2 separate regions of the Homo sapiens genome follow, and region 2 is linked to region 1. The links are contacts of gene promoters, found by promoter capture Hi-C in blood cells and fetal thymus (Javierre and others, 2016). All regions are on one chromosome and are shown on one strand. Each heading gives the region's core, a stretch centred on a gene start or on the middle of the fragment in contact. The rest is flanking DNA. Distances are from core to core; before and after follow the strand shown. Region 1 holds the start of TBK1 (TANK binding kinase 1). Region 2 has its middle 31 kb from the start of TBC1D30.

Region 1 (3,876 bases), core at 93-2,592:
TCCCTTTTCACAAATAAGGAATACACATTTGCCAGTCATTACATTTCACTCACGATACAATAACAAACGTCTCAACTATCTAACGAAAAACCTTCCCTAATCAATGTAACTGTAAATGGCAAATAGTACCATTAGGTACCTATATGTATGTACCTTCAGGATAATAAGAAAAATATTTATCAGCTAAGATATCTGTTCTCTATGCAAATACAAAACTATGGTTTCTATTTAACAGTAATCACAATAGTGGTCAGGGGAAATGTCTTTTGAAATTATCTTCCAATAACTCCACAATAACATGTTAAAACATGACTCAGCACACCCACAACGTGCTTGCCATATAAATCTTCCCAAATTTTTGACAAGCATATAAGCAGACACTCAACAACTATGTTGCTGATGATGCCGTCTTCAGCCTACTTCCTTACACCGTCCAAAACGAAAGTTACTATTTGTTGAGGGATGAAAACAGGTTTGACGACATGGCCTATGGACAAAGTTCCAGGATTTCTAAACTCTGCCCCTATGTGATTCATACACTGGGGTTTCAGAGTGGAAAAGACCAGTCTTTGGTTATACATTTGGCAATTACTTGGGAGTTGTTTTGAGGCCACCTACTAAGAATACTTGGGATAGAGATTACAAATTAAACCCATAAGCCAGGTAGACGAGGAGCAAGGAAATGTCTGGGAATTCGTATTTCATCGGCATATATTTAAAACATCTTATGCTTCTAATTTCCGGTGTGAGTCAACCTCTGCGGACTGAACATCACTAAAACTCTAAGGAAACGTCTCTTTTTAATCCTCTGAAAAATCAATACATTTAAAAACTGCCCGTTGTGTCGACGCTCGGAAAGAGGGTAGAAAACAGCGAGTCTAAGGGAAAGAGGTGCCCCTGCCTCCCCAGGCAGCCAGGGCCCAGGCCCGGTAACGGAGTCGTCCTCTTTATGCCCAAAGCCGCCGGACGGGATGCAGGTCGAGGACCGGCCGCGCGGCGCGGAGCGGGGATGCAGGTAACAGGGCCCGCGCGACCATTCCACCGGCTACGGCCACCCGACACACACCCCAGAGGCAGTGTCCACGCAGCCGGGGTCCTGGATGGCTTGGCCTCGGGTCGTCCGGGGCTTCTCGGTGCGCCCGCCCCCGCCCCCGCTCTGACTCAGCATCCCAGCCTCCCACAGGGGGCGGGAGCGCTCCCCGCCGGGCGGCGCAGGCCTGACCGACCGCGCCCCGCGCCGCCTTGGCCCCTCAGCCCGCGGCCGTCTCACTTACCCAGCCGGGTCTCCGCCGCGCCACCGCCGGCGGGCTCCCGCGGCCTCCTCGAGACTCAGGACACTTCCGGCTTCGCAAGCCCTGGCCGGAGGCCACGTGACCGACGGCCGGCGCGCCGGTGCGGGTGCGCGTGCGCACGCCTATGGCCCGTCTGGTAGTCACCACAGCCGCGGCGGCAACTGCCGAGTCGGCTTCCGCGGCCACGGTAATGAGGGGGATGTCTGGAGACACCCCGTCCACTGTTGCCCTCGCCCTTTACTCTAAAGGGGAATGAGGAGCCCTGAGCAGCGAACACAGTAATTGGGATTCCCGCAACTGCAAATCCCGCCCCTTCCCCGAGCGCTGGCCGACAGTAGGGCGGACCGACGCTGAGCAAGGGATTACATCCCAAGATTTACAGGTGTGCAGAACGTGGGACACGTGGGGGGCAGGCACAGACGGCCGGCAGAGCTGGGAGGGATGGATTCTATGTTTTAAGGGCCCACTTTGGCTGCAGTGGAGCCAGATTATCGTCTCGCAGTAATTCAGACTTTACATTGTTTTTTTCATTTTCCCATCACCCAGAAATACATTAAATTCTTAATGTAAAAATGTTCATTTAATTCCCTCTCGGTATTTTGGAAAACGGCCGTATTGGAGTATCTAACTCTAAACTTAAGAATTTAAGAACTAAAACTTAAATACTAAAATTAGGTCCTGCAATATTCGTGCAGTCAAAATCTCAAGCCGCTATTCCCAATAAGGAATAGCTTTCTGAAGGGGTCCCTTCTGCCCACGGACAGCACAACAGGCCTTTCTCAACATGAGGGAGCAGAGACCGCTGCTAATCTAGGGCTAAATTTCTGAGTGGAGGGGAAGAGGAAGATGGTGTTTCCCAGAGTAGCAGCAGCAAACACGAATGAATGGGAAGTCATGCGGAGTGGCTCAGAGGCTTTTGAATGTAACAGACCTAGGGTTGCTGTCTCGGCTGCCAATTACTGACTTAAAAGCTAATCTCTTACCTCTCTAAGCCTCAGTTTTATCAAATGCACAATGGAGATAACAAAAGTCCACTCTAATGAATTCTTACAAAGCAAGTTACTTTATTAGCATTTTAAACAATGTATAAGTGATGGAATCATTCTAACAACACATCTATTCACTGCTTACAATTCCAACTAATTTCAGTTCTTTGATATCTAATGACAAGAGCGAAGACCTGTTAAAGTTCCTTCCACCAGTAAAACTCACAGCTCAAAGTTGTGGGAGTGATTAACTGAGCCACAGGCCTTCATTCACATGTTTACCACATTAAAATACCACACAGTGTTTTCTTATAAGGTCAACCAACTGGGAAGCAATTAACATTAGCATTAAGATTTAAACTGTTAGGCACAGGGCTAAATCAGGCATTATATGAAAACTTGTGGTTCCCTAGTCAAGTCAAACAAATCCCCAAATATTTCAGCTTGTAACAGTTTTGTCCTTCCTCTCTTGAGACAATTATTTGAGTACTTGCTTTTGGAAATAAGGTAATTCATGATGGAAGCTTCCTAGCTGTGATGGTGCTCTAGGCAACTTCAGAGAATGAAGATAGAAGTTATGCATGATTATATAACATGAAGAGTTTAATTTTTATTACACACTCAATTTCCATGCCCTGATTTCTCTTAGCTCTATAAACACATGTAAATCTTCTGCAGAGCTTTAAAGAGCTCTGAAAGGGAAAACACCTTTCCATATATGGAATTGATAGCATAGTAAGGCCGTGTGCAGTGGCTTATACCTGTAATCCCAACATTGTGAGGCCAGTGGGAGGATTGCTTGAGGCCGGGAGTTTGAGACCAGACTGGGTAACATAGTGAGACCCTGTCTCTACCAAAAAAAAATGTAGCTGGGTGTGGTGGTGCACACCTGTAATCACAGCTAGTCTGGATGCTGAGGCAGGAGGATTGGTAGAGTATGGGAGAAGTTACAGTGAGCTATGATGTCACCACTGCACTCCAGCCTGGGTGATAGACTGATCTCTATTCAAAAAAAAAAAAGAAAAAAAAAGTATAGTGATACACTATTAATTCCATATATGCTAATATGAGATAGCATCCATATAAACTACTATCAAGTCTTTATGTGCCAGCTACTGTAATAAGTCTTTTCAAGTTTAACTCATTGAATTCGTAATGAGGTTTGAGGTAGCTACCATTATTTCCATTTTACAAATAGGGAAACTGAGGCTGGGAGACATTCTTTAACTTGCCCAAGGTTCTAAAACCAGTTACTGGCAGAACTGGTATTTGAACCTACTTAATCTGATTCTAGAGCCTGTGCTATATAAACTCTTACCCACTATGCTATGCTATTCATTAGTATCCATTTAACAATTACTACTATTGCAATAGCTGCAATTATCACTCCTATAGTACAGGGGAACCTATCAAAGAAACACTCAGCTTTCACTTATCTATTTCTGAAAACATTTTTTATTAAAGTATAAGGTACATTTCACTGATTTATTTTTATAACTGTCAATTTAGTTAAGTATTTTTATTATATGGTGTAAGAAAAATGTTTGAAATGTCTTCTGGAATTAACCGGAACAAAATAAATGTACAAAATTTAGAAT
Region 2 (3,946 bases), core at 1,036-3,535, 340 kb before region 1:
AATCTAAATGATAACTTATTTTTGTCTCTCAAAAGAAATGAGTTTATGAAAAAGGAAAAAGCACATCTGGGTAAGACGGAAGATTGAAAAAAAAAAGCATCTAACTTTGGTCCCCACCAAAACCACACTAAAAATATTGTAAAGATAATTTTTAAATCATAACCCGCAAGGACCAGAGTGAAGGACAAAAAAAAAAAAAAAGGAGCGTGGAGAACAGCAATGAATTTTTGAAGCTGGAAAAGCAAACAAACATAAATTGACAGAGGATCCTAGAAAGCCAAATCCCAAACTAACAGGAAAGCTGAAATCCAACTTATGTTATACTACACAGTCCACAAGAGACTTGGGGATTGGCAACCAGTTCCCCAGGAGGCTTGACAAGAAATATGGGGAGAAGGCTGTTGAGAAGTAGTTGGATCCCTCGTTCCTCTCTTCATAAGGTTGGGCAATTACCACTTTCCCACCCCTGCAAAAGTTTAAGAGTCTTATTTTTGAAGAGAGTGATAACAGAGTCCTTGGACAACCAGCTGAGGGTGAGTACCTTACCTAAAACAGGGACTCAGTGGCCATATGCATACTGAATGCAGAGACTCCCAGCTCTCTTCACCCCACTCGGCTCCCAAAATACCAGCAGCCAGACCTTCACCCTTCGAGCAGGAGATCAGAAGACTCTTCCTTGAAGAATCTGACCAGCCCAGATGAAAGACTTGAAGATACTGACCTGAGGGGTTCCACAACAAAGGGCCCATCCACATGGCACTTCAATGAAGCTCAAAGTCAATAAGCCCTGCCAGGGAGCCCAGAGTTCAAGTCAGCATTTAGACTCCCACACTTACTTATGAGCAGACAGCCAAAGAATACCAGACATCTAAGGAAAGCTTCTAAATATAATACAGTTTTGAAAGTTTCTTTCCTCCCTGTATAATCTTATCTCTTCCAAATTGTTTTCTTTTGTCTGTTTTAGTCTCTATCATAATATCTTTAGAGCAATAAGAAAATATATTGCATCTATGAAACAAGAACAGGATACCATATAAAAGAAACATTCAAATAGCAACCCAAAAAGATTTCTCAATAACAGGACTGGAAAATAAAGTTGAGGTAATCTCCAAGGAAATAAATCAAAAGAACAAGGAGTTGGAAAGCGAGAAAGAGAGAAAACGTTACAGCCAGGTGCAGTGGCTCACACCTGTAATCCTGGCACTTTGGGAGGCCGAGATAGGGGGATCACTTGATTGAGCCCAGGAGTTTGAGATCAGCCTGGGCAATGTGGTTGAAACCCCATCTCTACAAAAAATACAAAAATTAGCCAGATGTGGTAGTGTGCACCTCCCAGCTACTCAGGAAGCTGACATGGGAGGATCACCTGAGCCCCAGGAGGTCAAGGCTGCAGTGAGCCACGATTGCACCACTGCACTCCAACATGGGCAACAGACGAGACCCTGTCTCAAAAAAAAAAGAAAGAACATTACAGAACTTGTCTATAAGTTCCAACAGCCAAACAATAGAACCCCAGAAAGAGGAAAAAGAAAAAAGAAAAAGGAGGGAGAAAAATCAACAAAGAAATAATTCAGAGAAAATTTCCAGAACTGAATGACAAAAGTTGCCTGATTGAAAGAGCCTGTCTAGGCCCAGTGACAATGACCTGAGTGAAAACAGACCCACTCCAAGCAACATGATTGTTGTATTTCAGGAACACCAAGAACAAGGAGAACAGTCCACAAGCTCTTAAAGGGAAAAAAAATAAACAGTCCAGGATAAAGTGTCAGGCATCAGAAAGGCTTCAGCCTTCTCAAGAGCAACAAGACAAGTGAGAAGGCAATACAGCAAGTATAGAATAGTCGATCAAAGCGCATATATTTAGAATCAAGACATTTGACATTTTCACCCGTGCACAGTTACCAAAAACTTACTTCACAAGCACTCTCTCTCAAGGGGATATGGGAAACAAAATAAAAAGAATAATCAAGAAAGAAATATAAGATCCAGGATACAAGAGATCCACCACAGGAGAGAGACAAAGAAAGCCTCCACAATGAGGCTCCCAGGATGGCAGTGCATGCAGATGGAGCCCAGCCAGTAGGGAGTGGAGCAGCGTGGCTCAATCAACAGTCGTGTGAGGGAAGTCAACACAAGAGGCTTCCTGCTGCCGGACCATCTTTCTAACTGAAGGACAGAATGCCCAGGAGAACTCATCCATATTTTCATCTGTACTTGTGGTTTTTATTTGTGTTTTTGTTTTTTAGAGATGGAGTCTTGCTCTGTTGCCCAGGCTGGAGTGCAGTGGTGCAATCTTGGCTCATTGCAACCTCCGCCTCCCAGGTTTTAAGCAATTCTCCTGCCTCAGCCTCCAGAGTAGCTGGGATTACAGGTGCGTGCCACCACGCCCAGCTAATTCTTTTTTTTTTTTTTTTTTGTATTTTTGGTAGAGACGGGGTTTCACCATGTTGGCCAGGATGGTCTTGAACTCCTGACTTCATGATCCTCTTGCCTCAGCCTCCCAAAGTGCTGGGATTACACGCATGAGCCATTGCGCCCTGCCTATTTTTATTTTTTATTTTTTGAGTCAGTATCTCACTCTGTCACCCAGGTGGGAGGGTAGTGGCACAATCTCAGCTCACTGCAACCTCTGCTTCCCAGGCTCATGTGATTATCATGCCTCAGCCTCCCGAGTAGCTGGGACTACAGATGCATGCCACAACGCCCAGCGAATTTTTGTTTATTTTTTTTAGTGATGAGGTCTTACTATGTTGCCTAGGCTGGTCTCCCACTCGCAAGCTCAAGCAATCCCTCCTGCTTCAGCCTCCCAAAGTAATAGGATTACAGGTGTGAGACCCCACACCCAGCGAGCTTGCTCTTTATTTTTTATTCAAAGCTCACCATGGCCTTGCTCCTGCTCCTAGAAGTAGGCCAAAGCACAATACTTCTGTGGGCATGGAGGGGAGAGCATGGAAAGGCCTTGCTGAGCTTTGAATCAAAAACAAAAAGCAAGCCTCTCCCCCAACCTAGTTGATTATTCCATAACTAGCCTAGGCTGGGCATAGTAGTTCATGCCTGTAATCCCAGCACTTTGGGAGGCCAAGGCAGGTGCATCATTTGAGGTCATGGGTTTAAGACCAGCCTGGCCAACATGGTGAAACCCCATCTCTACTAAAAATTAAAAAAAAATTAGCTGGGTGTGGTGGCACACACCTGTAATCCCTGCTACTTGGGGAGGCTGAAGCAAGAAAATCGCTTGAACTCGGGAGACAGAGGTTGCAGTGAGCCAACATCGCACCACTGCACTCCGGCCTGGGCAACACAGCAAGATTCCATCTCAAAAATAAATAAATAAATAATAACTAGCCTAAAGCATAGCCTGGCAGAAGTCACAGGGCTCGTTTATAACCTTGCCCTTTGACTTCCCCAGAAGGGAACCTAAAACCAGGTTGGGACCCAGAGACAGTATAGTTTATCTTCTGAAAGGTTTTATCTAAGATAGCAACATTACCCTTTCCCCACATAACAAGGCTTGGGCTTGCTACTCTGTTTTTCAGAACCATATATTGCTTAGGAACCTATACAGGAAGTGGAGAAAGTATAAAGAAAAGCAAGGTAATGGTTAACACAAATGTGGGGGAGAGAGATTTCAGCCAGGAAGGAGCACACAGGGAGCTTTTAACATGCCAGTGATATTTGTTACTCAAGCTTGACAGGTGAATATCCACATGTATACACCTTTGTTTACTTATTCTTTAAAAAATACATATATGTATTACATTCTCTTGTTTATGATACATTCTATAATAAAAGATATTTTAAGTAGTAAGTGAATTCCTGTTTAAAATCAGTGAAATTGTTTTAACATCTTGAAAAACTAAAGGAACACCCAAAATATTCTTAATAATTTTATGCCTGCAAATGTGAAAAGTTATGGCAAATTCTGTATAATACACCAGGGATGACA

What was found. Contacts are between HindIII fragments. The CHiCAGO score rates a contact against its expected background, and 5 or more counts as called.
Region 2: a fragment that was not itself captured here is called in contact with the fragment with the promoter of TBK1 in region 1 in 3 of 17 cell types (non-activated CD4 T cells, total CD8 T cells and neutrophils); the score reaches 9.4 in non-activated CD4 T cells.

Annotation. Positions count from the first base shown.
Region 1 is chr12:64,449,586-64,453,461 of GRCh38, reverse strand. TBK1 (TANK binding kinase 1) reads right to left here and starts at 1,342. Exons shown (of 21, transcript NM_013254.4): 1 at 1,275-1,342. It overlaps XPOT (exportin for tRNA), which reads right to left. Exons shown (of 25, transcript NM_007235.6): 25 at 2,337-3,876. RefSeq lists a silencer at 1,002-1,471. The HindIII fragment of the contact is 9,573 bases long and covers 1-2,804 here.
Region 2 is chr12:64,791,960-64,795,905 of GRCh38, reverse strand. It overlaps a transcript of TBC1D30 not described here. Among named protein-coding and RNA genes, the nearest start is that of TBC1D30, 31 kb to the left of the region's middle. The HindIII fragment of the contact is 2,809 bases long and covers 881-3,689 here.